Linked DNA regions of Homo sapiens: all the other regions are linked to region 3. The links are contacts of gene promoters, found by promoter capture Hi-C in blood cells and fetal thymus (Javierre and others, 2016). All regions are on one chromosome and are shown on one strand. The core of a region is centred on a gene start or on the middle of the fragment in contact, and the rest is flanking DNA. Distances in the headings are between cores, read along the strand shown. Region 1 overlaps NEMF (nuclear export mediator factor). Region 2 overlaps NEMF (nuclear export mediator factor). Region 3 holds the start of POLE2 (DNA polymerase epsilon 2, accessory subunit).

The links. Contacts are between HindIII fragments. The CHiCAGO score rates a contact against its expected background, and 5 or more counts as called.
Region 1: a contact is called between a fragment that was not itself captured here and the fragment with the promoter of POLE2 in region 3, in 2 of 17 cell types (megakaryocytes and erythroblasts). The highest score is 7.5, in megakaryocytes.
Region 2: a contact is called between a fragment that was not itself captured here and the fragment with the promoter of POLE2 in region 3, in 1 of 17 cell types (erythroblasts). The highest score is 5.7, in erythroblasts.

What each region holds. Positions count from the first base shown.
Region 1 is chr14:49,826,967-49,829,666 of GRCh38, reverse strand. It overlaps NEMF (nuclear export mediator factor), which reads left to right. Exons shown (of 33, transcript NM_004713.6): 12 at 241-318; 13 at 405-613; 14 at 860-1,051; 15 at 1,313-1,376. Among named protein-coding and RNA genes, the nearest start is that of NEMF, 24 kb to the left of the region's middle. The HindIII fragment of the contact is 5,222 bases long and covers 1-2,700 here.
Region 2 is chr14:49,847,343-49,850,042 of GRCh38, reverse strand. All of the region lies in intron 3 of NEMF (nuclear export mediator factor), which reads left to right. Among named protein-coding and RNA genes, the nearest start is that of NEMF, 4.1 kb to the left of the region's middle. The HindIII fragment of the contact is 1,129 bases long and covers 690-1,818 here.
Region 3 is chr14:49,686,928-49,689,627 of GRCh38, reverse strand. POLE2 (DNA polymerase epsilon 2, accessory subunit) reads left to right here and starts at 1,414. Exons shown (of 19, transcript NM_002692.4): 1 at 1,414-1,492. The coding sequence starts at 1,425. RefSeq lists a silencer at 1,302-1,351 and enhancers at 656-1,415, 1,416-2,177. The HindIII fragment of the contact is 3,892 bases long and covers 1-2,700 here.

The DNA.
Region 1 (2,700 bases), core at 32-2,531, 140 kb before region 3:
GTAACCTGTAATCAAAATACCTTTCTATATAAGGAGTGGGAGTTAGGAAGACAGGAGAAGTAATTTTGGGGCATGGAACGCATTGTAGTGGGATAGGCCTAGGGTGGTAGACTATGGGAACTTCAGCTAGCTAGATAACAGCATAGATGGGGTCAGGATAGTGAGTGTTGGGAAGTAAGAGAGGGATGTCATGAGGTAGGAGAAATCTAATTTTTAAAAAATCTGTTTTGCCAATAAAAGGAAAAGCAAGCATTGAAGAAATTAGATAATGTTCGAAAGGATCACGAAAACAGATTGGAAGCTCTTCAGCAGGCTCAGGTATTATGTTTGGCTTTCTCAGTGCTTTTTCAAAAATGTTAACTTTAACTGGCAATGTAGTAAATGTGTGTGGTTTGTTTTTTAAGGAAATAGACAAACTGAAAGGAGAGCTCATAGAAATGAACCTACAAATAGTTGACAGAGCCATTCAGGTAGTTCGAAGTGCTTTAGCTAACCAGATAGATTGGACAGAAATTGGGTTAATTGTGAAAGAAGCCCAGGCTCAAGGAGACCCTGTTGCAAGTGCAATCAAAGAATTAAAACTACAAACAAACCATGTTACAATGCTGCTAAGGTAAGTTTGACTCTTAGTCAAGCAGTTAATGCTTGTCTTTATTTTGTTATTTTAATTGTTCACTGTATTAAACATTTTTTCTTCATATTTTGAAATTCTCAAAGAAAGGGAAAAAACTAATTTAGATTAAAATAAATAATGAAACTTCCAGTACTGTAAACCATTTATAATTTTATTGAAGAAGAAAATTGAAAATAAAAGTGATGTCATTGACGTTAGTGAAATGCTATTGAATATTTTTAATAGAAATCCATACTTGTTATCAGAGGAGGAAGATGATGATGTTGATGGTGACGTCAATGTTGAGAAAAATGAAACTGAACCACCAAAAGGAAAAAAGAAAAAACAAAAGAATAAACAGCTGCAGAAGCCTCAGAAAAATAAGCCCTTACTTGTAGATGTTGATCTCAGCTTGTCAGCATATGCCAATGCCAAAAAGTAAGTCATTTAACTTTACATTTTAGGCCAAGTGTTATCTGCAATAAATTAAGGAATTAAGGACATTTTAAAAAATTTTAAATTTCACTTGTACATGCATACTTTTTTTGGGTGAAAATACTTTTTTAAATTTAGTTTTGTTAATTATACAGTTTGTTCTGATTTGTTCTGTATAATTTGAGAATTTGTCAAGTTAGAACTAAGTAGAAAACTGAAGAATAAATATTATACTTAAAATTTAAGAGAAATATGTTTTTCTAGGTATTATGATCACAAGAGATATGCTGCTAAGAAAACACAAAAGACTGTTGAAGCTGCTGAGAAGGTACTGAGTATTTCTTAGAGTGAATGTTAGTTGTTTGTGCCTGCGTAATTTAATGGACATAATTATTTCTTCTGTTTAAATGAGGTTTTCTAATTCAGAAGTATCTTTCAAACTTAACTTTGCTTTAAATATATGTATTTCCAGTATTTTTTCCCCCCAGGACTGCTCCTCCCCTATTCTTCCTCATCTCAGTAAATAACACCTTCATTTTTCTGTTCACTCAGGTTAAAAATGTTTGTGATATCCTGGACTCTTTTCCCATAAATCATGCAATCCATCAGTAAATCCTTTGGTTCTTTCTTTAAAGTACAGCCAGAATCTGGCTACTACTCATTATTTCCACTGATCAGTCCCCTATCACCTCTGTGTTCACATGGACTATGACAAGTAGCCTCTTATTGGATCTCTCTCCTCCTCCTCTTTTCCCACTACAGTCTGTTCTCCACATAGCAGCCATTGTGACCCTTTTTTTTTTTTGCGATGGAGTTTCACTCTTATTGCTCAGGCTGGAGTGCAATGGCTTGATCTCAGCTCACTGCAACTTCTGCCTCCCAGGTTCAAGCGATTCTCCCACCTCAGCCTCCTAAGTAGCTGGGATTACAGGCGCCCGCCACCACACCCAGCTAATTTTTGTAGTTTTAGTAGAGACAGGGTTTCACCATGTTGGTCAGCTTGGTCTCAAACTGCTGACCTCAGGTGATCCGCCCGCTTCAGGCCTTGACCTTCGGCCTCCCAAAGTGCTGGGATTACAGGTGTGAGCCACCATGCCTAGCCCCGTTGTGATCCTTTTGAATCAAAAGTGAAGACTGGGTGTGGTGGTTGACGCCTGTAATTCCAGCACTTTGGAAGGCCGAGGCCGGTGGATCGCTTGAAGCCAGGAGTTTGAGACCAGCCTGGCCAACATGGTGAAACCCCATATCTACTGAAAATACAAAAATTAGCCTGAGGTGATGGCGGGTACCTGTAATCCCAGCTACTTGGGCGGCTGAGGTGGGAGAATCTAATGAACCCGGGAGGTGGAGGTTGCAGTGAGCTGAGATCATGCCATTGCACTCTAGCCTGGGAGACAGAGCGAGACTCCGTCTCAAAAAATATATTAAAATAAATAAATCAAAAGTGAAGTCCTTTTTCTCTTCCAGTTGCTTCCCATCTTAATACAATTCAGAGCCCTTCTCCTATCCTGCAAGAAGGACGGGAGATCTCCTCCCCTCTGACCTCAACACCTGCATTCCTCCTCTCATACACTCTTTCTGGCTACACTGGGATCTTAGCTGTTCATAAAATAATGACACGTGCTCCCCTCTCAGGGTCTTTGCCCTTGCTG
Region 2 (2,700 bases), core at 5-2,504, 160 kb before region 3:
TCCTTACTTTGGCAATGTATCTGTTATGGCATTGAGTTATTTCATTAGAGGCTTTACAGAGAAGAGCTTTACCCCCCAGCAATTTAGAGTCTGTTTTGGATTACAAATTAGGTAAGTGTTTCCATATCACAAGGGCTTTCACAAAATTCTCAGATTATTAAAGTTTAATTTATTTAATAGTAACCCAAAATAGTTCTTTTGGGGCCTGTCCTTAATAATAATGACAATAATAATGCTACCTGTTGTGTAGCACTTTTTAAGGCAGATGAATAATATGTATTTCATTTAAGTTGTTTAGCAACTCAGTGGACTGTGAAGAACAAATACAATTTCAGTTTTATGGATGAGGTAACAGGCCAATGAAATAGGACACTGGGATTGTGTAAACATCTCCAAATCAGACTACACTAATAGGTCAGTCACTTTAAAAAATACTTAGAATTCTATGGGTTAGGTGTACGTGTCAATCTAAATGTATAGAAAGATTTCCTCAATGGAGCAGACAATGTTAAGCACTTTATAAATCAAAGAGCTGTTACTGTTGCATGGCACAGGCAGAGTTATGTCTATTATGTGATAAATCACAGTGGTTGTTCCAGTATTCACATTTGGGGATGACAGCTATAGCTTTGTGGCACACAGCAGCAGGTTGATTTCACCAAGCTGTTGATAGGGAAATGAAACAAGCTTTAAATATGTACTATGTGTCCATCTGTACTCTCCATGATAAATAATCCCCTTTTTACTATTCCTTTGTGTGAACTTCTGTCCTTTCAATGATGCCTTTTGTCTTTATTTTTCTTGAATAAAATTATTACTCAGGGACTCTGGAAGAACTGATTGTGATTTTCCTCTAGGGATTTAAAGATAGCCCTACATGTAGGTTACTGTTTAATCAAATCAGTATAGGTCATTCTTAAAACTACTGAGTTAAGGAGGAGCAGATTGTTTATCCTAGGAAGTTATTCTGCCTATGTGAGTATATAAAATGCGAATTTCAGTCAATTTGGGCTATAAGGTCTGGAGAAGAACTCTTCTTAGTTATGAAAATGTTAGCATTAATTTTAATAATGAATTTATGTGTTTATTGTTGTTTTTTTTCAACCTTTGTCAAGGAGTGGATTTTTTGTCTTTTTTTTGAAGGTGGTCTTAGATTAACTTCTGTAAAATTTGTTTCGTATTTAAGTCTTTTTTTTTTTTTTTTTTTTTGAGACGGAGTCTTGCTCTGTCACCAGGCTGGAGGGCAGTGGCGCAGTCTTGGCTCACTGCAACTTCAGTCTCCTGGGTTCAAGTGATTCTCGTGTCTCAGCCTCCCAAGTAGCTGGGATTACAGGCACACGCCACCATGCCTGGCTAATTTTTGTATTTTTAGTAGAGATGGGGTTTCACCATGTTGGCCAGGCTGGTCTTGAACTCCTGACGTTGTGATCCGCCTGCCTCGGCCTCCCAGAGTGCTGGGATTACAGGCGTGAGCTGCCATACCCAGACCGTATTTGAGTCTTGAAGAAAGCATTCTTTCTTATTGGTCTTAACTAAAGGGTCTTTTATATTAAAAAATTAGAAACAATTGTAAGATATTTTAGAGGCTACAGAGTAGTCTTGTTACCAGTCCATGTCATACTTCAATATTTGTACAAAAAGACGGTACATGTAATCTAAAAGAGTAGGTATTGCCAAGTAAATTGTATTTGGATTTGATATACTAATATTATTTTAATTGTTAATAAGAAAAAGAACCTTATGGCCAGGGATAGGAGGAAGGGGATTTAATAAAGAATGAGAGTTATTACATTGGATTGAAATAGGTTATCAAAAGCTTAGAGACGATACCAGGAAAATTCTCTTTGGGTTATATTAGTAAAGTTTGTAGGAATAAGCTGGGCACAGTGGCAGGGCACTTGTAATCCTAGCTACTTGGGAGGCTAAGGTGGGAGATTGCTTGAGTCCAGGAGTTTGAGCCTTGCCTGGGCAACAGAGAGACTCTGTCCCTTTCTTTTTTTTTTTTTTTTTTGAGACAGAGTCTTGCTCTGTTGCCCAGGCTGGATTGCAGTAGTGTCATCTCGGCTCACTGTAACCTCCGCCTCTTGGGTTCAAGCGATTCTTTTGCCTCAGCCTCCTGAGTAGCTGGGATTACAGGCATGCGCCAGCACGCCCAGCTAATTTTTGTATTTTTAGTAGAGATGGGGTTTCACCATATTGGCCAGGCTGGTCTTGAACTCCTGACCTCAAGTGATCCACCTACCTCGGCCTCCCAAAGTGTTGGGATTACAGGCCTGAGCCACCGCTCCTGGCAAAGACTCTCTTAAAGAAAAAAAAAAAAAAAAAAAAAAAAAAAAGAATTGGTAGGGGTAACTGGATATAAGGTGGTGGACTATTTACAGGATACCATAAGCCATAAGCTCATGGTCCATAGTTGATATGTATTAGAAGTAGAAGATTAGTGGAAACAATTAATTAATTTTGAACATAAATGAAGCATACAAAAGGGAAATTTGGCATACTTAGAAGTGTCATCAAAGAGACTTAAAAAAAATAAAGGGACTGGGTGTGGTGGCTCACGCCTGTAATCCTAACACTTTGGGAGGCCGAGGTGGGCAGATTGCCTGAGCTCAGGAGTTCGAGACCAGCCTGGGCAACGTGGAGAAACCCCGTCTCTACTAAAATACAAAAAATTAGCCAGGCGTGGTAGTGGGCGCCTGT
Region 3 (2,700 bases), core at 165-2,664:
GTTCAGACAATTCTCCTGCCTCAGCCTCCCGAGTAGCTGGGATTACAGGCATGCGCCACCATGCCTGGCTAATTTTTTTGTATTTTTGTAGAGACGGGGTTTCTCCATGTTGGTCAGGCTGGTCTCGAACTCCTGACCTCAGATGATCCGCCCACCTCGGCCTCCCAAAGTGCTGGGATTACAGGCGTGAACCACTGCGCCCGGCTTTTTTTGTTTTTGAGACAGAGCCTTGCTTTGTTGCCCAGGCTGGAGTGGTGGCACGATCTCGGCTCACTGCACCCTCCGCCTCCGAGGCTCAAGAGATTCTCCTGCCTCAACCTCCCCAGGAGCTGGGATTACAGGCGCGCGCCACCACGCCTGGCTAATTTTTTTTTTTTTTTTTTTTTTTTGGTAGAGACGGGGTTTCACCATGTTGGCCCGGCTGTTCTCGAACTCTTGGCCTCAAGTGATCTGCCAGCATCGGCCTCCCAAAGTTCTGGGATTACAGATGTGAGCCACCGCGCCCGGGCCCAGAGGTTTTTAAAATGCAAAAACAAATACATATACTTTTGTTTCCCTTCCTTCATTAAACTTCGCTTTTTTTTAAAAAAGAAAAAAACCCGTATACGTTGGAGGTCACTTTATATTGGTACTGTGAAATCATCCTCCTGTTTTATAAGCCGCGTGTTTACTTATAAGCACTCCACGGGTTAGTCAACTCATTGGAGCAAGCGTTTTGAAGTGTGGCAGATTGACAGTCCACCTGAAATCAGAATAACTGAGTTCAAATCCTGACTACACCATTTAACTCGTCGTTTCATCTTGAGCAAGTCCTTTACCATTTTTGTGTCTCAGTTTTCTCATCTGTAAAATGAGGCTGTTGTGGAAAAGACAGTAGACAGCTCACTGGGCTGTCATGAGCAACACATGAATTCACACATTTAAAGTGCTTATGACAGTGCATGGCGCATACGAAGCCCTCAAGTTAAATAAAAATCGGGGTAGGTGGGAGCGATGGAGATTTATAACAGCTTCCGGTAAATGTCGAGGCACAGTATTTCCAGAGCTTGTGCGAAGTAGGGAACCCAACAGCTCTCATGGCCTCGAAAGAAGGGGGATCCTGTGTCCGGGAAGCTCGGCCGCAGTCCTGCAATGTCTAGGGCAGCGGTGAGAGCGCTGTGGCTGGCTCAACGCAGCCCGACACCAGGGAAGACGCTCTGGCCCTCAGTTTCCCGGCAGCAAAGGAGCGCGAGGTGGTCTCCACTTTCAGCCTACTCGGTCCGGGGTTGCGAACTGTAAGGTCTGAGTTGCTGCGGCGCAGGCAGCGGAGACCAAGCAGGGATCTTAACAGGGTTTAGCGCCACGCGGGCCAGGGCCGAGGCCGGAGCTGGGAGGGGCGCGCCCGGGAAGGGGCGGAGCTGCGGCGGTGGCGCCAAATCGCAAATATGGCGCCGGAGCGGCTGCGGAGCCGGGCGCTCTCCGCCTTCAAGTTGCGGGGCTTGCTGCTCCGTGGGTGAGTGGGCTCGGGCAGCTTGAAGGGCGAGAGGGAAGAGCTGGGGCCCGTCTGCCTGGTGCGGCAGCGGGACGCACCGCGGCGGCTCCCCGCGCGCCGAGAGGGGGCTTGACCTTAAATTTCAGAGTTCTAAGAAGCGGTCGGGCGCGGTGGCTCACGCTTGTAATCCCAGCACTTTGGGAGGTCGAGGCGGGCGGATCACGAGGTCAGGAGATCGAGACCATCCTGGCCAACATGGTGAAGCCCCGTCTCTACTAAAAATACAAAAATTAGCTGGGCGTGGTGGCGCGCGCTTGTAGTCCCAGTTAGTTGGGAGGCTGAGGCAGGAGAATCGCTTGAACCCGGGAGGAGGAGGTTGCGGTGAGCCGATATCGTGCCACTCTACTCCATCCTGGCGACAGAGAGAGACTCCATTAAAAAAAAGTTCTAAGAAGCGAGGTGGATCTTGAGGCTGCCGTGCCTTCTTTGGTTTCCCCGACCCATGCGAGGAGTTTAATGTTTCTTCTAGGCGGGCCGAGGCTCTTCTGCACATGTCAAACTGAGCCCGAGAAGCTGCAACCTATCTATGGCAGCCGGTTATCAACATTGTGACCTGGACAGCTCTCAGGCTCCCGGGAAGGTTGCTGAGACATAAGATGAGAGACCCGAGAAAGCCCACTTGCACGTCTGCAGTTGCCAATTTATGTGAAAGTCAGGTTTCCTGGGCATATCCGTGTTTTTGAGGACCTATAGAACATATGAACCTTCCCAAGATTTCTCTCATTAAATCTGCTCCGTGTTTTAGAGTTCTATATGTACGTGTGTGTGTGTGTGTGTGTGTGTGTGTGTGTGTGTGGTGTGTGTGTATATATATATATGTATTTTTTTTTTTTTGAGTCATGGTCTCACTCTCGCCCAAGCTGGAGGGCAGTGATGCGAACTTGACTTACTGCAGCCTCAACCTCCTGGGCTGAAGTAGCTGGGACTGCAGGCATGGGCCACCATACCTGGCTGATTTTTTGTTGTTGTATGTTTTTTAGAGACGGGGTCTGGCTATGTTGCCCAGGCTGGTCTTGAACTCCTGGGCTCAAGTAGTCCTCGCGCCGTGGCCTCCCAGAATGCTGGAATTACAGGCGTGAACCACTGCGCCTGACCTAGAACACAATATTTTATACATATTGAAATACCTGCTGGATTGGATATACCTCTCTGTATCAGTTTTTATTGCT